Regions from separate parts of the Homo sapiens genome. Here region 2 is linked to region 1. The links are contacts of gene promoters, found by promoter capture Hi-C in human tissues and cell types (Jung and others, 2019). All regions are on one chromosome and are shown on one strand. The core of a region is centred on a gene start or on the middle of the fragment in contact, and the rest is flanking DNA. Distances in the headings are between cores, read along the strand shown. Region 1 holds the start of IPCEF1 (interaction protein for cytohesin exchange factors 1). Region 2 has its middle 110 kb from the start of CNKSR3.

Region 1 (6,867 bases), core at 947-3,446:
GATTCTCCTGCCTCAGCCTTCTGAGAAGCTGGGATTACAGGCTCGTGCCACCAGGCGTGGCTAATTTTTTGTATTTTTAGTAGAGACAGGTTTCACCATGTTAGCCAGGATGGTCTCGATCTCCTGACCTCATGATCTGCCAGCCTGGGGCTCCCAAAGTGTTGGGATTACAGGTGTGAGCCACCGTGCCCGGCCCTATAAACTTTTTATACTTTTCTCATTTTAACGGAGTCTTTGGGGAGGGAGGGAGCAAATCTGTGGTCAGCCCGTCATCTTGAACTGACAGTCCGGCCGTTTTGAGGATTATTCTAATTCTACAAATCATCTTTGCTCAAAGAATTTAAGTGGCTCTATTCTGGCCCCATAAAGGTAAATAACATGTCTTTTGAGGATATCTTTGATGATGGCATCTAAATGTCTGGTGAGAAGCCAGGCCATGCTGTTGATACCACTAAATTCCTTTAATATCACCTAGTACCATTTTTTTTTCTACGTAAAGCAGGGAACTAGAAGACAACTCAATATAGGGAGAAGATGAGGCAGCACTTCCAGAAATAGAAGTGTACACAAACAAGAAGCCGCTGAGAGAACCTTCATTTTGTTCCTGCTCAAAATGTACAGCATCTTCTTTCATTTTTTCACTCCTCCACAGATTTAGTTTACATTTTATCTTTGTCTTAGTCATTCAGGCTGTTATATCAAAACACCGTAGCCTGGGTGGCTTACAAACAAAAGACATTTATTTCTCACAGTTCTGGAGGCTGGACATCCAAGATCAAGGCGCCAGCAGATTCATTGTCTGGTGAGGACCTGCTTCCTCGTTCCTAGGTGACTGTCTTCTGGCCATGTCCTCATATGGTGGAGGGGTGGGCAGATCTCCAGGTTCTCTTTAATAAGAAAATTAATACCATTCATGAGGGCACTGTCCTCATGACCTAATCACTCCCCAAAGGTCCACCTCTAAATACAATCACATTGGGGATTAGGTTTCTATATATTCTATATATTCTATATATATATATATATATATATATATATATTTTATATATATATTATATATATATATTTTATATATATATTATATATATATATTTTATATATATATTATATATATATATTTTATATATATATATATTTTATATATATATTTTATATATATATTATATATATTATATATATTTTATATATATATTATATATATTATATATATTTTATATATATAATATATATATTTTATATATTATATATATATAATATATATAATATATATATTATATATATAATATATATATAATATATATATTATATATAATATATATATAATATATATATAATATATATATTATATATATATATTATATATATATATACACATACATATTTATTTATTTATTTATTTTGAGTTGGAGTCTTGCTCTGTCTCCTAGTCTGGAGTTCAGTGGTGCGATCTCGGCTCACTGCAACCTCTGCCTCCCAGGTTCAAGCAATTCTCCTGCCTCAGCCTCCTGAGTGGTTGGGATTACAGGCATCTGCCACCACGCCCAGCTGTATTCATTTCCCTAGAAGGTATAGAGAAACAAGAAGCTGGTGTTGAAAGGGAGATTGGGAGGGCAGGAATTTGTAATGAGATGGAATATCTCTGACTTTCAGCCTGCCATTTTCCTTTTCCAATGTGGGAAAGAAAAGTTTTGTGGTTAGAGACTCTTCTATGTCTACTGCAAAAGATGGCAGGCTAAGACTTATTTTTATCCTAAAATACGTTTTACAAATGTGTCTGTACCCTCTCTTTATTAGAGCATTATGAACGATTAGGAAAGGAGGAAAGAGGGAAATCTGAAAGAAGATTGAACCTAAAGAGGTTGAAGTGGCATTTCACCCAAAAATGCTGAGAATGACTCTGCAGATCATCTCACCCTCCATGCCTGTAAATGAACATCCTTGCCTCCAAAACAGGAAAGCAGAACCATGAACTGTTCCACCAATGTGCTCGGCAAATGAATACACTGGGCAGTGCTTAGTGATCAATGAACTCAGGCAGATGGGGTGTGCTTGCCTTACATGTACTGTGTCCTGGATATGGGCATCAAGGAAGGGTTTCATAACAATGAGAAGGAAGAACGTTAGGATTGAGGAAGTGGAGATGATACTTCCTCTTCTTTCGAAAGAGCTTTACTCTCTGATCAGCTTTGAATGTTAGTTCTGGGTTGACTGAGTTTCCAGAGCTGAGGCTGCTTTAAGTAGAATCCTCAAGCTTGGCCTCAGAGTACTATGAGGCTTCTGAATCCAGGAATAAGACTGCTCTTGGATTTACTCTCTTTGTATTGCATGTAAGTAACGTCACTTCTTGGCTGATGTATGAGAGGTAACTGCTTGACAGATCAAGATGGCAAAGCAATGGATACCCTAGCACTCTCCTTAGAGTAGTGAGGTAGGAAATATGACTTTGGGGATGTAATATTCACTCAGCTCTCTGTAATCTGGGAAGCCAGGTGCTAAAGATTCTTTAATTCTGTGAAAGCTTTGAAAGAGGAGAGAGTTGTGTACTCACTCTGCTTTTATGTTTCTTAAATGGGTGTTGTCTTGATAGGTGTTTAGACTGCAGACCACAGGTTTGATTTAGAAAAGCACAATTCAGCATGTATTTGGGTCCTGAGGAGTTCATTTGGGGAAGCACTCTGGGGCCGCCCTCTTTCGAGAAAGTGTGTTCTTTGCAAGGGAGCTTCCTTTGCATGGAGGCAGCTGGGGGACATTTTACACTTTGATAAAGGTCTCAGGCTTGCCAAAATATCTCTGGTATAAAAATGAAAGCTAGGTGTTGTTGGTTCAGAGTCTTTTAGTAAGGGTGTCTGGGGCACTTGATTTTTCTTTGCTGGGGTATATGTGAAAGTATTTAATTATAGAAGTCAGAATTATAACCCACTGAAGCATCTTTGACTACAGCAGTGGGCTCTATTAGTCTTGAGTGGCCTATGTGTTCCTAGTGCTGTCCTTGATAAAGTCTAATTTCTATCGAGTTATTTATTTTATGTAGAAAATTGAAACCGAGGGCTGGGCACAATGGCTCACACCTGTAATCCCAGTACTTTGGGTGACCACGGCGAGAGGATCACTTGAGGTCAGGAGTTTGAGACCAGCCTGGGGGCAAAATAATGAGACCTCATCTCTACAGGAAGAAAAAAAAAAAGAAAGAAAAGAAAATAGAAAATAGAATGCCGGGTGCGGTGGCTCACGCTTGTAATCCCAGCACTTTGGGAGCCCAAGGCGGGTGGATCATCTGAGGTCAGGAGTTCGAGACCAGCCTGGCCAACATGATGAAACCCCGTCTCTACTAAAAATACAAAAATTAACTGGGCGTGGGAGCATGCACCTGTAATCCCAGCTACCTGGGAAGCTGAGGCAGGAGAATTGCTTGAACCCGGGAAGCGGAGGTTGCAGTGAGCTGAGATTGCGCCACTGCACTTCAGCCTGGGTGACAGAGCAAGAGTTCATCTCAAAAAAAAAAAAGAAAGAAAGAAAGAAAAGAAACAGAAATGGAAAGAACACACATTTCTTTCTGCTCACATCATGCAAGCAAGGAAGAAAAGGGTGTAAGTTTGTGTATGTGTTGATGAACTCATTCTTTAATTTACCTTATAATTTCCTTCCATTCCTCTTTTTATAAATCAAGTGTCTTTTCTGGAGTGGGTCCATGTATGAACTATTTCAGGCAAGCTGTGTTAAGCAAATATACATCATCAGAGTATGGAAATAGGAAGTTCTTTCCTGCGGTAGTTTGCTGTGGCAATAAGAGATAAGAAATTACTTCATCACTATTGCCTGAGACTTTCCTTTTGACTCGTGCATCCTTTTGAACAGCTCACTTCTGCTTTCCATCCAGCTTGGAGGCTCTGCAGTGTGAGCTGATAATTGCAGTACAGGTTAACAATTTGCAAGTAGGTCTAATGTGGCAAATGGTGTGTGTGTGTGTGTGTGTGTGTGTGTGTGTGTGTGTGTGTGTGTGTGAAGAAAAATCCTAAAAAATAAGCTTTTTAGCCTTAAAGAGAATCCTGCAAATGGAGGAGTTACTTGTGCTCCCAAGTGCTCAGAACAGTGCCTGCTCTCAGTAAATATTTGTTGAATGAATGAATAACTGGCATAATTCATAAAATGAATGTGGTAGGAAAGCCATTGCTTTATCTCTGTTACTCAGGCACTTTAAAAAGTGAATGTTAGAAAAGATCAGAGTGGAGGAGGAGAGGAGAATATGAAGGTGTGGAGTAAAGAAAGGGTGTGTAGAACGGGGATCAGAAAAATCCCCAGGTCAGTAAAGTGAAAGGGTTGGCGATACATGGTGGTGGAGGTGGAGGTGGAGATAAAGGGGGTGGTGTTGGAAGTGGTGGTCGTAGGGGAGGTGATGGTGGAAGTGACGGTGGAGATGGTAGAGGTGGTTGTGGAGGCGATGGTGGAGGTGGTAATGGAGATGGTAGAAATGGTGATTGGAGTGGTAGAGGTGATGGTGGAAGTGACGGTAGAGATGGTGGAGGTGGTTGTGGAGGAGATGGTGGAGGTGGTGGTGGAGGAGATGGTGGAGGTGGTGGTGGAGGTGGTGGTGGAGATGGTGGTTGGAGGTGACGGTGGAGGTGACAGATGGTAGAAGTGATGGTAGACATGGTGGAGATGGTTGAGGAAGTGATGGTAGAGGTGATGGTACAGATGGCGGAGATGGTGGTTGGAGGTGATGGTAGTAGAGGTAATGGTGGAGGTAATCATGGGAAGGTCAGTATAATTTAGCCAAGAGAAAACACAGTTGGGGGCTCAGACATATCTGTTCAAAATCTATATCTCTGAACCTACCAGCTCTGTGACCTCCGAACCTATAAAGTGGTGACTATAACATATTGACTTTTTGGGTTGTTGTGTGAGGGTTAAAAATATGATTGCATTAAATGGCAGTTATCGATATCAGTTTTCAAGTTGCCAGAGCCACGCTTAAAAATTTAATCTCTAATTTCTCTTTTTTTCTTTATGCTTTGTGCATTTTCTGAATTTTGTAAAGTGAAAGTGAGTTTTTAAAAGAATCATTAATTTAAAATAAATATGATAAGCCTAGTTATCAGAATGGTTGAACACATGGTGGTATATAAAGAAATGTCATCAAGAAAATGATATTTATGGAAATAGTCTCATGATGTAATGCTAAGTCCAAAAAGGAGGAACATAACTTTTTCAACTATGTAAAAATACTGCAGAGAAGCAAGATTTGGGTGAAATGCATTAAAATGTTAATATATGAGTAGTGGGCTTATAGCTCGTGGTTCTTCTTTCTTTGTACTTTGTACTCTATTTTCTTCCCAGATTTTTCATTAGTGGAACATACCTGAACTATTTTAATAATCTGAAAATAAAACAAACGTTGAAAGAAAGTAAATAGGCCCGGGTGCGGTGGCTCTCATGCCTGTAATCCCAGGACTTTGGGAGGCCAAGGCGGGCGGATCACCTGAGGTCAGGAGTTCCAAACCACTCTGGCCAACATGGCGAAACCCTGTTTCTACCAAAAATACAAAAATTAGCTGGGCATGGTGCGGGCGCACGTAATCCCAGCTACTCAAGAGGCTGAGGCACAAGAACCACTTGAATCCGGGAGGCGCAGTGAGCCGAGATCACGCAGCTGCACTCCAGCCTGGGCAATGAGGGAGACTTCATCTCAAAAAAAAAAAAAAAAAAAAGGAAAAGGAAAAGAAAAGAAATGGACAAAAATGTAACCCTCCTTAAATCTTCCACCAACAGGACGACAAAAGCAATGTTTTAGTGATAGTGTGCTGAAGTTCATGGTTCATTGCAGTCTAAGAAATGACACTTAAAATTTATGTTATTTAGTCTTTGTAGGGAAATCCCCTTTGAGAGTAAGGCTGGTGCAGAATCATGTGTCAACTCTGAAGTGAGAAAAAGGAAACGTGGTCCCACTGGGGCTGGCTGGTCTGATTAATTCCTAGAATGACATGAAAATGGGTTATTTTCTCTGGATGACTTATAACTGCGTCTAAACCTGAGTTTGATGATTTCCTAAAAAATGCAATAGTCAATTTGTCAGTTATTAATTATAAGTTAAATTTAAATCTCCCAATATAATTGTTAATACATTTCTTAGGGAATGTTGCCATATGTTTATCATCTTGGTACTCATAGGGAGAGGTCATAAAAACATTTCTATAGAGTCACAGATTATTTTATAGATTCAAGAATTATCATTCCTGTTGTTAGAATCTTGGCCCTGCCGTCTCACAGGGCCAGCAGGTCACCATGGAGTCCCTTATCAGGGACGTAACCAAAATAAAATATTTTGGCTTGTAGGCATTGAAAAGAATCTTCTGTCTTTGTCTTAGAATCAATCTTTGTCTTAGAAAGGAGAGATAGTCGGCAGACAAAAAGGCAAAGGGCTGAACAAATGTGAGCAAAGACAGGTCTCCCAGACTGACACAGGGATTGACATAGAAGCAGCTGAAAGGTGAAAAGTGAGCCAGCTTAAACTCAGCCCAAAGTTACTAGAATGTGGATGAGTCTTTCAAAAGAAGTCTGAATAAAAAAATGACCAGATCGTCAAGGAAAACTAAGTCAAGTTAGAAATGAAAGAATTAATTGAAGAAACAAAAACCCAGCATGCACTAAGCATTGAAATAGAAACAGCAGCAAGATAGGATTCCCAACAGATTCTATAGCATTTTCTGAATATTTCATACGTGGAATGCTGAATAAAAAACCAATGATATTACTGAGCACTTGCTAGGTTCTAGACACTGTGATCTGCACTTTTATTTTTACCTTTTAGTTTACATTTACATTTAGTTACATTTACAATTTCTTTTTTTTTTTCTTCAACTTTTACTTTAC
Region 2 (6,483 bases), core at 2,505-5,004, 260 kb before region 1:
AACTTTAACAATGACATTGTTGGGTTAGTTATAAAAGAGGCTATAGATAATTAAACAAAATGTATTCATTTTCATTTTTATAGTTTGGACAATTACTTTTGAAAAATATATAGATGAAAAAACAAGGAAAATTTAAGTTAGGTAAATGAAGTTCTGATACAGTTTCTTGACAAATTCCTGCCAATTGCTCTTGTATTAAATGCCAATATTATTTCCTTAATTATTGTATAAACACAAGATTTCTAAGTCTTAGATGTTCAATGATCTAACTCCAGTAGTATTTGATCCAAATTATAAGTGAAAGACATTAAACCATTTAGAATTACTTGAAGTAGGGTATGAACAGTATTATTGAATAATTATGAAAGTACTGAGATATAACTATTATTTTTTCCTAAAAAAATTATTTTTAGTGGATAAAATAAGATACACTTTATAATCTAATTTAAAAAATACTGATGAATTATATGGCTACTCATCTTCCAGGTTTTTTTATTTTATTTTTTTATCTTTTTTTTTAAATTTTTTTGAGATGGAGTCTCGCTCTGTTGGCCAGGGTGGAGTGCAGTGGCATGATCTTGGCTCACTGCAAGATCCGCCTCCTGGGTTCAAGCAATTATTCTCCTGTCTCAGCCTCCCGAGGAGCTGAGACTATGGGCGCACACCACCACGCCCAGCTAAATTTTTGTATTTTTAATAGAGATGGGGTTTTACCATGTTGGTCAGGCTGGTCTTGAACTCCTGACCTCAGGTGATCCACCTGCCTCAGCCTCCCAAAGTGCTGGTATTAGAGGCGTGAGCCATTGCGCCTGGCCTATCTTCCAGGTTTTATACTAAAAAAATGAACGTCTTGAATTATATTCTTCATCTGCAAAAAAGTGGTAGTTTCACTCAGGAACTTGCTCAAAAAATTAAACTTTATGCCAAAATGCCCCCAAATCTAGCCGAGGAGATGGATCCAAGAGTCACATTTTAACAGAAGGGGTGTGTTATGAATTTACCAATTGGCTATAGGCTGCAGGTGGTGATGGTTGAGTACATGTGAGGTGCAAAGAACCTTTGGCCAATCTTCGAAGTTTCTTTCAAATTTGTGGTGAATAGATTCCAGTGGATTATCAGAAGACAGTCTTTCCTACACTTCTGTGTAAAATTCTTTTTAGAGCAGTCCAAGACACTAAGAAAATTGAATTATGTTTACAGATGTCAACCTCCCTCTGCCTCTCTCTCTTTTTCTCTCTCCCCGGCTCCCTGCCCTGCCTTCCTCTGTCATATTCCCTTCATCCCCCTACACAGGATGGAGTGCCAGGTGATCCTAATTCAGAGTCTCTTTTTTAGCCCTTGGCACAAAACTCTCTGCACCTGGGTTCATTTTTCTTTTAAACAATAACCTACACATAGTCCAGAGTCTTTGACTAATATTTGTTGAGTTGAAATATAAAAACAAATTGTTAAAAATGGGATCTGAGCCTTTAGGGCTGATTCGTTTGCATTTGTTAATGCTGTTTGCAGCGAGTCTTGGCTCTGCTATCGTTAGGTGAGGAGCAGCCTGTCCAGGTTTCAGTAACTGTGGTTGTAGTCCAAGACTGGAGCTCCCGGAAAATCAAAGGGCAGCATGGAAAAGAGAGGTCTGGGAGTTCTTTTTTGCCTGGTTGTTTCGCTTTTGACTGGAACAATGTGTTCTTTCCATAGATGGAAAAAGATTCTGAATTTCAGAATTCACTTGGGGAGTTTTTTAACACCTGCATTAGGAAACATTTATGCATACTCAAGAATTTCCACATTCTTCTGCATTTCTTCACCTCCTATATAAAATATGGTCTCCCACTGGGGCTTTCCCCTGCTCGCTGTGCTGAACTCAAAGCTCAGTTGTTACCTTTATAATGGAATCCTGGGAAAGTTTCCCTTTTCATGAGTGAGGCTCCACCTAGAAGGCGAAAGAATTCACCAAAGCTAGAAGCTGGATGTCGCCATCTAAACTTCTGTGACCATATTTCATTGATTTGGAGGCACACACTTTTTCAAATTATTATTTCCAAAGCTGGGATGTGTGTTTCAATTGGTGGCATCTTACGTTCTATAAAATACAGTATAACAGCCAACAATTTCTGTTAACAGCGATAATTTCATCTCTTTGGAGGTTTCCAAAATCACATTGAGATCCACAGCTATGGAACTCTAAAACGCCTCTCAGTAGCTGTCTTTGTCCTATATACTTAGAGCCCTGTGAATCACTATATGGCTTTCAATCCTCTTAAGATCCTATGACTTGGCTGGGTGCGGTGGCTCACTCCTGTAATCCCAGCACTTTGGGAGGCTGAGGCGAGCAGATCACAAGGTCAGGAGTTCGAGACCAGCCTGACCAACATAGTGAAACCCCATCTCTACTAAAAATACAAAAATTTAGCTGGGCGTGGTGGTGTGCGCCTGTAATTCCAGCTACTCGGGAGGCTGAGGCAGGAGAATCGCTTGAACCTGGGAGGCAGAGGTTGCAGTGAGCCGAGATCGCCTCACTGCACTCTAGCCTGGGTGACAGAGAGAGACTCCATCTCAAAAAAAAAAAAATATTCCTGCAACTTTGGTTAGGATGGTGGTGTATCATTTGAATCAATGAAAGCTGGTTTTTATTTTGTTGTTTGTTTATTTTTGAAGACTAGTTCCTCATTCTTTGCCTGTTACACACAAAACCCACACAAAATAATTATGGTTAATACTTACTTAGTGTGGACTATATAGCAGGCAGTGTTCTAAATATTTGAAATATATTGTTACTGACTCTGCGCAACAACATGAGAAAGTTCCAATTATTATCTCTGTTGAACAGATGCTGAAATGGAAACCTAGAGAGATTAAGTAATCATGTTTAATAATAAGTATTGGAGCAGGGGTTTCAGGCCAAGCAGCCTGGCTCAAGGGCCCATCCTCTTATCATGCATTTATGACAATGTAATTGATAAGCACATAGGCTACAAGGAGACAAACCTCAAGCTAATACCGCCAAGAGCGATTACAGTTGTATTATTATCATGTTATTTGATTTAGTTCTGAGCTCTGAACTTCAGGGATACAATGAAAACTCAATAGAGTTTACTGTCCAGCTGAAAAAAAACCAATATAGAGATGCTCAGAGATAGACAACTGGGCCAGGATGTGAAAGGCAGGATATAGCGGCCATCTTTGTTTTAACTTCTCTATGCTTGAGTATTTTTGTAAATTACCTCACATGTGTCATTGCCTTAACTATCCAACCCTATCATTCCGTTTTCCTCAGACTTGTCTGAAAATAGGTGTTGGCTGTTTTTGAAGGTCGAGGCCAACCTCAAAGAGTAAGGATTTTTCACCACTGAAAAATTTCAAAAGAATATGCTGTGGTCTGTGAAGGTAATTCTAAAAGAAGCTCTCCTACATTTTTAAACAATGGAAAGCTCACTGGAAAAAGCGGATGTTCTCCGGGACTGACCTCTTTAAATGGAGACATGCTCTTTAGATGCTCTAGTCATGGATATTTATTTTTAAATATGGTGTGTTTTATGGTTAGAGTTCATAGATTACTTAAAACAGGATTAACCTCTTAATACATTGCAGAGATGATTAAACTACATGCCTATCCTTTGCTTGCATTCTTCAAGAAAAGTGATGCAATATATTTTCCTTTTGGTTTTGAATCCACAGTTGGTAAGGATATCATTTGGTTTTCTATCCTAAAAGTCTATTTGTATGTCATTATTCTAGATCAAGATTGTGCTATAGAATAGATTCTCCTGACAAAAGGAAAATTCCAACTTATCCCATGAATAAAAAATAGATTCTATTTGAATAATCGAACAACATGCCAATATTTTCCCTTTATTTCTCATTTTACTTTATTAATCTATTGATCTATCAACTAGACTCCCAAAAGGTCAATTAAAATGTCAATATATTTTTGTGTAGTATTGTCATTATTATTTCTTTCTTTCTTTTTTTTTTTTCTCGAGACAAAGTCTCACTCTGTCCCCCAAGCTGGAGTGCAGTGGCATGATCTCAGCTCACTGCAACCTCTGCCTCTTGGGTTCAAGTGATTCTCCTGCCTCAGCTTCCTGAGTAGCTGAGAATACAGACATGTACCACCACGCCCGGCTAATTTTTGTATTTTAAAATTTTGTAATTTTTTGTATTCTAAAATTTTGTAATTTTAGTAGAGATGGGGTTTTGCCATGTTGGCCAGGCTGGTCTTGAACTCCTGACCTCAGGTGATCCGCTCGCTTCGGCCTCCCAAAGTGCTGGGATTACAGGCATGAGCCACCACACCCGTCTGTCATTATTATTTTATACAAATGTTAATCTTGCCCTCCAGGTGCATTCAGAGAGGCAAAGTATTCTTTTGGTACCCAGTAAGGCTCCACTCTTTCCTGTGGGCCACAGTACAGGATTATGGAGATGGAGTTGTGTTGGAATTGACGGTGGCTAGTTGAAGACTGGACTGTGGCCCAAGCTCCTTTCTTCCTATTCCGTAAACCTATATGTTACTCCTACATGTTAAGTGGGTATTCTGGGTTCCAAAAAAATTATGTAAAAGTCACAAAAACATTTTTAAACATTCAACAATCAGCCATTTTGATTCTTGAATTGGGCATTATTTCCAATCAAGTAAATTTTGGCAAAAATTTTTTTAGTTGTGAAATGTTTATTAAATACCCACTATGTAGGCCAGGCATAATAATTGCATTTTATCCTTATTTCTCTGCCTTTGGAGCTTGGATGTTGCTGTGAATCTGAAGAACATTTTAGATTTCCTCACACGTGAACTGGAGGCTAAGGTGGGATGGATAGTGAGCTATTTTTTTTCCATATTAATTTTTAAGTTTTAAAGAATTTAAGTTTTAATCAACTATAACTTTATATGAAAATGCTCCTCATTAGGGTAACCAAAAGCCCAGCTGTTTTAGGCCTGAAGAGAGTGATTTACTTATCTCATGTAAGTGATTTATTGAGAGAGAAGCCTCTACCGAAGTGAGGAAACAGCAAGAGAAGAAGCAAAGACGCGGCTTTTGCGGAAGCCCAAGGGTGGCTCTGCAACGTGCGGGGCGCCCCATACGTGGCCCCCATCCAGCAGGGGGGTTGTGCTCTGCAGCTCCGCCAGGGCCTTGCCGGAGGCACATCACCTCCTGGAGGCAGCAACCTCCCAGGAGCTGAGCACGGTTCTTCCGAGAAGGAGGCAGCTGTGAGCCACCAGCAGCCGCCACTCACCACAGCAGTGGGGTGGAGGCACTGCCTGGTGAAGGAACTGGGCAAGACGCCAACAGTGTCCACAACAGGCTCCAAGGAAGCCGGAGAGGGAGCAATCAGCAGTGATCTCAAAGAAATGAGAAACTGCCATTTGGCTGCCTGTTGACTTCTGGAATTATCCAGTTTAGGTAATAAAGAGACGTTGTTTATTGATTGGGAAAAGTGAATCTGCACATAACTGTGTTTAAAAATCAAGAAGCAAAGGGGACTTGAATACTCTTACCATAGACTTTTGAGAAGTTGAAGTTTATTGCTAATTTAGTAAACCTGAGATCAAGTTGTCCATCTTCTCCTAAACTGCTTTTGGTACCTTTCTGGGGGAAGTGGAGTCTAGTTGAAGATAAAAAAAAAATTCCCAGCAACCAATATCTGTTTTATTAGCAACTGAAAGGAAAATTTTTTTTTCTTTTTAAAAAGTAATGATTTGATTTATTTGATAAAATACCAGAACAACTGCATGCTCATTGGTATCATTCAGAGTTCTAAGAGGTAAAGAAAGACAATCATTTCATCTCTACACACCCTCCTGAGGTTACCACCATTAAGGGTTTAGTATTATTTTACCCATTTCACAATGTGAATATAAACACAGAAAACATACAACATTCTTAGGGCTTCCTTTTCTATTTTTTAATAAAAGAGAGTACTTTTTTTTTTTTAAAGTAGATATATGACATGGTCTGACCCAGGGTTCAGTGAGCAGGCTTTGTGCTTACTCTGCTTTCAAATGATTAAAAATAAAATTCCATGCGTAGGGACACAGAGGTAAGGGTCATAGGATATCACATCTGGTCAAGAGGAAACGTGGCCCTCGGTCAGGGGAAGAGGACTGAAACAGCGGCACTGTGAGGTTGATGCCCTTGACCACAAGATCAGTCTTTAGGGTTTTGAACTACTTAAGATCCTGACTATTTTGAAGTCACTTTGGCAGTGAGCTGACATGTTTTATTTTTATGTTTTGGACCATATCTTTGGCAGGCTATCTGTTGTTCTTCCCTATGACTCTATGCAGAGGCAGCATCAACATTTCCCTTCTTGAAAACAAGCTGGTGTTTTACTTTAGTAGACACTACCCTGAATCCCTGAGTCAAGGAACTGTTTAGAACTGAAAGGGGACCATGCAGATATGGCCACCCCACTCTAGGCCAGTGAGTGTGAGACACGTGCCCTTGTCCACGCAGCACGTCGTTTTGAGGTTCTGATAGCTTGTCCAACCTC

What was found. Contacts are between HindIII fragments. The study calls those that stand out against the background at their distance.
Region 2: a contact is called between a fragment that was not itself captured here and the fragment with the promoter of IPCEF1 in region 1, in 1 of the 25 tissues and cell types used here (thymus).

Annotation. Positions count from the first base shown.
Region 1 is chr6:154,352,132-154,358,998 of GRCh38, reverse strand. It overlaps IPCEF1 (interaction protein for cytohesin exchange factors 1), which reads left to right and starts at 2,196. Exons shown (of 12, transcript NM_001130700.2): 1 at 2,196-2,327. The HindIII fragment of the contact is 7,632 bases long and covers 1-3,271 here.
Region 2 is chr6:154,614,496-154,620,978 of GRCh38, reverse strand. No RefSeq gene overlaps it. Among named protein-coding and RNA genes, the nearest start is that of CNKSR3, 110 kb to the right of the region's middle. RefSeq lists enhancers at 3,049-3,218, 5,111-5,617. The HindIII fragment of the contact is 7,014 bases long and covers 248-6,483 here.